2 separate regions of the Homo sapiens genome follow, and region 1 is linked to region 2. Evidence: promoter capture Hi-C in 16 types of primary human blood cells and fetal thymus (Javierre and others, 2016). All regions are on one chromosome and are shown on one strand. The core of a region is centred on a gene start or on the middle of the fragment in contact, and the rest is flanking DNA. Distances in the headings are between cores, read along the strand shown. Region 1 overlaps SCUBE1 (signal peptide, CUB domain and EGF like domain containing 1). Region 2 holds the start of SCUBE1 (signal peptide, CUB domain and EGF like domain containing 1).

Evidence for each region. The method cuts DNA at HindIII sites, captures the fragments that hold promoters and counts their contacts. A CHiCAGO score of 5 or more calls a contact.
Region 1: a contact is called between a fragment that was not itself captured here and the fragment with the promoter of SCUBE1 in region 2, in 2 of 17 cell types (activated CD4 T cells and total CD8 T cells). The highest score is 5.6, in activated CD4 T cells.

What each region holds. Positions count from the first base shown.
Region 1 is chr22:43,216,242-43,219,758 of GRCh38, forward strand. It overlaps SCUBE1 (signal peptide, CUB domain and EGF like domain containing 1), which reads right to left. Exons shown (of 22, transcript NM_173050.5): 15 at 2,014-2,217. Among named protein-coding and RNA genes, the nearest start is that of SCUBE1-AS2, 5.3 kb to the left of the region's middle. The HindIII fragment of the contact is 1,141 bases long and covers 1,688-2,828 here.
Region 2 is chr22:43,341,739-43,345,765 of GRCh38, forward strand. SCUBE1 (signal peptide, CUB domain and EGF like domain containing 1) reads right to left here and starts at 1,634. Exons shown (of 22, transcript NM_173050.5): 1 at 1,436-1,634. The coding sequence starts at 1,523. The HindIII fragment of the contact is 3,211 bases long and covers 209-3,419 here.

The DNA of each region.
Region 1 (3,517 bases), core at 1,008-3,507, 120 kb before region 2:
TCACCATGTTGGCCAGGCTGGTCTCAAACTCCTGACCTCAGGTGATCCACCTGTCTCGGCCTCCCAAAGTGCTGGGATTACAGGCGTGAGCTACCATGCCCGGCCCAAAATAAGTTATTGAAAGTAGAAGAGGCTGGGCGCAGTGGCTCACACCCATAATCCCAGCACTTTGGGAGGCCGAGGTGGGCAGATCATGAGGTCAGGAGTTTGAGACCAGCCTGGCCAACATAGTGAAACCCTGTCTCTACTAAAAATACAAAAATTAGCCGGACACGGTGGCGCGCACCTGTAGTCCTAGCTACTTGGGAGGCTGAGGCAGTAGAATAGGTTGAACCTGGGAGGCAGAGTTGCGGTGAGCTGAGATTACACCATTGCACTGCAGCCTGGCTACAGAGCGAGACTCTGTCTCAAAAATAAAAACAAACAAACAAAAAAAGAAAGTAGAAGATGACATCACCAAGCTCCCTTTGTCCCCCCTTGTCAGTACGGCTGTCCCCCTCCACTGTCTGAGCCAGAGTCCCAGCTTCCCCAACCTGGCCCTTCCCCTGCCAGGTGTCATCTCTTTACCAACAGCTTCCCCGCCCTCTCCAGGTGTCACCTCTTTATCAACAACTTCCCCCCACCCACCCCCCGCCAGGTGTCATCTCTTTACCAACAGCTTCCCTCCCACCCCCACTGCCAGGTGTCACCTCTTTTCCAACAGCTTCCCCCAACACTGCCGTCACCTCTTCTCTAACAGCTTCCCCCCACCCCGCCAGGTGTCACCTCTTTACCAACAGCTTCCCCACCCCGCCAGGTGTCACCTCTTTACCAACAGCTTCCCCACCCTGCCAGGTGTCACCTCTTTACCAACAGCTTCCCCCAACCCCCACCCCCCATCCGCCAGGTGTCACCTCTTCTCCAACAGCTTCCCTCCTCCCCCGCCAGGTATCATTTCTTCTCCTCCGGCTTCCCAGTTTACACCCCTGGCCAACCCTATTGTTTGAGGCTTCGGACTTGTGGCTGCAACTGCCCATCCAACATCTCCATGTGGATGACTTGTGAGCGTCTCAGACTGAACATGTCCAGCCTGCGCACCCCATCCCCGCAGCCCACTCTTCATCAAGTTTCCCTCCCCCCAGCCCACTCTTCCTCAAATCCTTGGGGATTTGGCCGGCGTCAGGAAGCGATACCACCTCTGCCCAATTGGCCAAACCCTTGGAGTCGTCCTTGAAGTCTGTCTCTCCCTAGGAGCCCCCTCCATCTCATGCTCCTCCCCGTCCTTGCTCCGCCCCCGCTACTCAGCCTTCCCGTAAGAGCGCGCATGAGCCTGCGTCCTTGCTCTAAGCATTCCTATGGCTCCCCATCCAACTCAAGAGTGGTGTCTGCCAGGCCCCATCACCTCTGGCCTCACTGTACCTGTGGGCATGTTCACTGGCCCACTGTCCATCTTCCGCACGGGCATGTGAGCTCCACTAGAACTAGGACTGTCTCGTGTGCTGGTTCTGCCTGTCCTGCGTCCAGGCTCTCCCCTCCAGCGCACACCCGCCCGCTGGGGGCCGGCCTCACCTGCTTCCCTGCAGCACGACGCTGCCCTCCTGGGCGGCCCTAGGCCTCACGACATCCCTGCTCTGTCCCCCGACCCTGACTCAGGCTCCCCAACTCCTGGAGCCCTGAGGTCTTAGCTAACGTGACTTCTCCTCCAGGAAGCTTCCCTGAACCACATCCCAGACTAGAGAGGGCCTGTTCTGGTTCCCGTGCCCCCTCGCGCCCCTCGACTGTGGCCTTGCTGTCCTGTCCACTCCTTGTCCCTCCTCAGACTGTGATCACATGCCCGAGGCCCAGCACAGAGGAGTGCTCTTCAAATGACAGTGATGACCATGAGGGCTGCAGTCCTTCTCCCCGGCAGGCCTCTGCATCTCTCTGTCCCCTCCCCAGGTGTCTGTCTCACCTGCGTGCCCACCACTGTTTACCCCGGCTCATGTGCAAGGAAGGACAGAGTCAGCATCTGAGTGGCCATGGGCAAGGACTCACCGCATTTGCTGTCCTGTAGCACCTGGCCTGCGCCACATGCCCCCTGCCCCTCCAGCGCCTTGGCTGGCCTCTGGGCTACCTCGTACTCAGTGCCTGAGACCTGGACATAGAACTGCTGCCGGCCGATGGACTTGCGCAGGGTCTTGATGGCGGCCTGCAGGCTCTGTTCTGCTCGCTTCCGCAAGCAGTCCGCTTCGCATGTGTCTGCAGGGGCAGGAGAGACAGAACATGAATCGCTGGCAACCTTGCTAGCCGCTGCCTTCTTAGCTGAGGGCTCCCCCGTGCCAGGCCCTGCACTGGGCTCGGACCTCCTCAGCACATTCTCACAACAGTCCTGGGGCAAGGGGCCACTGTCATGCCCATCTGACAGATGAGGAGGCTGCGGACCTGGGAGGCAGGGCCTGCCCACGGCCACGCAGCAGATCTGAGTGCAATCCAGGCAGCTGCCACTGCACCACATCACCCCCCAGGGTACGACTCACGGGGCAAGAACGCCTTTCTGTCACTCAAAGACTCTTGGGGACTGCCACTGTCCCCAGGATAGTGTCCAGCTCTCTGGCCTTGAATCCAAGGCCCTTCAAGGTCCAGCCCCGTATGGCCTTGCCAGCCTCATCCCCTCCACTCTGACACTCCCTGTGGATTCCAATGTCTAGCCACCTGGCCCTACTTACTGCTTCCTGGACACCTCCTCCTCTCTCTGACCTCTGTGCCTTTGCCTATTCTATTCCCTCTGCCTGAATGCCATTCCTTGCCACCTTTTCCACCCAGTGAGCTTTGATTCTAAGCTCTCATTCAAATGGCACCTCTTCTGGGAAAGCTTCCTGATATGGTTTCAATATTTGTCTCTTCCAAACCTCATGTTGAAATCTGATCCCTAATGCTGGGGGTGGGGCCTGGTGGGAGGTGTCTGGGTCATGGGGTAGGTCCCTCATGAATGGCCTGGTGTGGTAGTCAGTTCTTGCTGGCTCTACTAGTCGCCACGAGATGTGACTGGTGAAGACATAGGCACCCCCTCCCCTCTCTCTTGCTCCCTTACTCTTGCTATGTGATGCCAGCTGCTCTTCACCTTCCTCCGTGAGCAGAAGCAGCCTAAGGCCTCGCCAGGCAGATGCTGCTGCCGTGTTCTCGGACAGCCTGCAGAGCCGAGAGCCAATAAGCTCTTTTCCTGATAAATTATGCAGCCTCAGGTGTTCCTTTTAGCAACGCAAATAGACTAAAACATTTCCTTTTTTTTTTTTTGAGATAGAGTCTCACTCGTCGCCAGGCTGGAGCACAGTGGCGCGATCTCAGCTCACTGCAATCTCTGCCTCCCAGGTTCAAGCGATTCTCCTGCCTCAGCCTCCTGAGTAGCTGGGATTACAGGTGCCTGCCACCACACCTGGCTAATTTTTGTATTTTTAGTAGAGACAGGGTTTCACCATGTTGGCCAGGCTGGTCTTGAACTCCTGAACTCAAGTGATCCACCCACTTTGGCCCTCCCAGACTGCTGGGATTACAGGCGTGA
Region 2 (4,027 bases), core at 384-2,883:
GCAGGGCGACCCAGCCCTCCTAGCACAGGCTGCTCCCTTTGACTCTGGTTTGCTTATGCTGGGGACATGCTGCTGGGGTTTCACAGTCACAGGGCTTCCACGGAGAGGGTCGTGGAGGAGACAGAGTCAGATACAGAGAGACACGAGGAGGGACACAGGTGGGGATAGGCACGCCCAGGAACAGTCACTCAGAGGTGAGGGACCCCAAAGCTTGGGAGAGACACCCACAGACACAAGGGGGATGATGGGGCAGCAGGGCTGGGCTTCCAGGAGGGGTGTTGCTGTGGAAGAGTCTCACAGGCCCAGCATCCTCACTCGGGGCACGCGGGACCACCAGGAATAGACCCTACGCCACCCATACCAGACCTCAGGAAGCCGGGAAGGACGTGCAGGACCCTCCCCCTGCCTCCCCCTCCAAGCAGAGCACCGGAGGAAGCGCCTCTGATGACGAGGAGGGGAGAATGTGACTCCAGCTTTTCGGGAAGCCCCTGAAGACAGAGAGCAGGAGGGGACCGGGTGGGAGGGTGGGGGGGTCCCCGTGAAACCCACGGGCCTGGGCCTGTGGCCTCCGGGTCTCCCCCTCCCCTTCCTGGGTCTGCTCCACCGACGTCCCGCGTCCGGACTCTCCTCCCTGTGTCTGTCCTCCGGATCCTCTGCCTTCCTTCCCTCTGTCTTTCCTCCCCGTCCTGTCAGACGGTCCCGGTCCCTCGTCTGCGGCTTTCCAGGTATCTCTGTCCCTCTCTCTTTCCCGGTCTCCCTCTCACCGCCCCCCCCAACCCCGTTTTTCTGCGGCGTCCATCTGTCCCCCGTCTCCTCCTCTCTCTCTCCCTTATCATCGGTGGGACCATCCCTCTTGATTCCCCCTGATCCACCGGCCTCCTCCTCCTTCCCCGGGCGGTGCGGGCCTCCTCTCTACCCTTCCGCATCTGTCTTTTCTCCGGGCTTCCTTTTGTCTGCTCCCTCGGCGCCGGCTCTTCTGTCCGTCTGTCCCGCACCTCCCGCCCCGTCCCGGTCTCTCGGTCCGTCCCTTTCCCCGTCCACCTCCTGGCGTGTCCCCCTCCGCCCGCCCCGCCCCGCGCCCCCTCTCCCAGGAGGAGCGCCCCTCTGCGCTCGGGGTCCCGCCCCGCCCAGGTCCGCACGCGGGGTCCCCGGGAACCGCCGCCTTTCTTCCTCGCTCCCGCGCTCGCGCTTCCCCTCCCGGGGCCCCGGCCCACCCACCCCTGGTGCGGCCCCGCCGGACTCAGGAGCCCCGGCCGCCCGGGCTGCGGGGAGGGGGCGCCCCGGGCCGGCCCTAGAAGTTACTTTGCAAAGAGGCAGGGGGCGCGGGGCCGCGCGGGGCGAGCTCGGGATCCGCGGGGAAGAAGCCCTCCGGGACCGCGCCTCGGCCGCCCGAGCCCCCCGCGCCCGCCGCCCCCCACCTCGGTCGGGGGCTTACCTGGGAGCCCGCTGCCCCCGGCCAGCCGCCCGCGTGTGCCCAGGGCCAGCAGCACGCACAAGTGCCAGCGCACGGCCGCCGCGCCCATGCTCAATGCGGGCCCCGCTGGGCGTGCGGGCGTGCGGGGCGCGGGGACCCGACCGACCGGCCGCTCCCGCAGGCGCTGCTCGCTGCTCGCCGCTCCGCCACCGCTCGGGCTCCCGAGCCGCCCAGCCAGCCCGGCTGATGAGCTGACAGCGCGCGCTCATTGGCCCGTGGCGTCGGAGGGGCGGGGCGTCGCCCAGGGCCGGCCAATGGGCGCCGGCCTCCGGCCCTCCGAGGAAGAGGGGGGCTCGGGCGTCGTCGGGGGGACCCTTCCCCTGGGGCGGGCGGCAGGTGGGGGGTGTGGGCCTGGCCGGCCGGCTCGCTAGGCGCGGGGTCTAGGCCAGGCTGGGGCTGCTTGGAGGCTGCGCCCTCCCCTGCCCGCGGCGCCCCGGCCCCCGCCGTCGAGAGTGGACGCCCCTCTGGGGTAACCCCTCCCGGCCCAGAGGCAGCCTCGGGGGCGGGGATCCTGCGAACCGGGGATCCCGTGAGGTCGCCCGCCATCCGTGGGCAGTGAAACGCGCCAGCGCGCAGAGCAGACTCGCCTGCGCTGCCGTTTGCTGGACGTTTCTTGAGCACCTACTGGGGACCGAGTGCGGGCGAGGCAGCAGCGAAGGAACCGGGAGGGGAAACCTCGTGAAGATCACTTGAAAATTGACGTTCAAAACAAACGAACTTTTTAGCACTCGTCAAAGGACAGTGGCCCGTCAGTGTGCTTGTCACGGGGCGGCCGCAGGACCTGCGTCTGGAACCGGGCGGGCGCCCGGGACGGACAATGCCGCTTGGCGGTCGGTCCCGCGGGAGGCCCCCGCACGGGGCTAACCTCGGCCGGCGAAGTTCGCTGCCCGGAATGCGAGGCCGAGGCCTCCCCCTGTGACAGACCGGGCGGGGCCAGGAGGAGGGGCAGGGCGGGCATCCCGGTCCGAAGACCCAGGAACTGCTCTGGCCTGGCCTGGGGTCTACACCTGACGCCTGGCGAGGGTTGGCTTCGGGTCTGGTCCCACCGGGCCTGGGAGGGACGGGCGGCTGGAAATAAATGGCCCCTCTCAGTTCCAGGCAGGACGCTTTAAGGGACGAAAGTTCAGCAAACCCCAAGGCCCATCTCCTTGACAACCACCAATAAGAGCTCCTTTTTTCTTCTCCTGCTCTCCAGGCCCAACTCAAAGACAACTCTTTTCTCTTTTTGTCCACTCTGCCTGCACCAGTTTGAGCCCCTCCACACCAGCTCCCTTTCCTGCCCCCAACACACACACGCACACACACACACACACACACACACACACACACACACACAGTCACACATGCAGACACATGCTCTCACGTGCAATCACTCAGACACAGCCTCACACCCTCACACCCTCCAGCACACACACGCTCACACATGCTTCTTCACGCCCTCATCCAACCTACCGTAGACGAGCTCCTCAGCCCTGGAAGGTTAAATCTGTGTCCAGCCAGCTCTCACACCCCATCTGACTTCACATCAGCTTGTGGCACGGGCCTGGTGGCTGAGGCAAGGGGTCCCCTACATGGGGATCGGGGGTGTGGGGGGTCCAGAGATGCCCAAAGAAGAAGGAAGCGCTGCCTGTTGTCTCCACTGAGCCCCCACCCCATTGCTCCAGACATTTCGGTCTGCACGGCTGCTCCTGGCTGCTGGTTTAATTTGGGAGATGCTGTTGACAGGCTTTATTTTGTCCCCGTCAATTGTGTAGCTTTGAGTTTCTGCAGGGGGTGGGGAGTTCCCTCAGAACCACATATTATCTTGTGCATTGGGCAACAGGGCAAGCAGTGTGAGGTGGTGGGGGAGGTTCTTCCAGGGGGCTCTGACCTACTTGAAACAATGCCCTCTAATGTGCCTGGTCATTAGGCACCCCCCCGCCCAGCCCTAGCCAGGTGCCCCTCAAGCTTGATGGCAGCAAGAGAAGCTTCTTCCAGGCTCCATCCCCACAAATCAAGGCAGGAATGGAGGCAGGTTACTCTGTGACCCCTCAGCCCAGAGGTAGCTGTCCCTTGTACCAAGTTGTAGTCCCCAGCCTGCCCCCAAGCGATTGCTCAGGTCAAGTTTGCTGGTGAATTATCACCCTCTAAGGTGTGCAGGCAGAGAGAAAGTGGTTCCTTCTAGGCAGCTGTTGTCTATGTGGAGGACTCAGCGAGCAGAGGAGGAGGGAAATGGAGAGAAGACACACCTGTAAGCCCCTCACAGGTGAAGGAAAGGAGGCGGCCTGTGGAGCAGAGAAAGAGGAGGTCACTTCTGCCCCAGGGCGCCGTCAGGGAGGCCTCTTAGGACAGGTGACCTGGGCTAGACACAGAACATAAAGAGGATATTTGCCTAATGGATGAGAAGAACAAATAGAGAATCTGCCAAGGTCCATGAGTGAAGGCGAGGACTGAATAAGTGAGCCAGAGAATGTTCTGGAAGCATCTTGAAAACTGCAGAGCACTGTATGCACATGACAGTGATGTGCTGGAGGGCTGCGTGCAGAAACGGATGAGTCTGTTTTGCACTGCGGT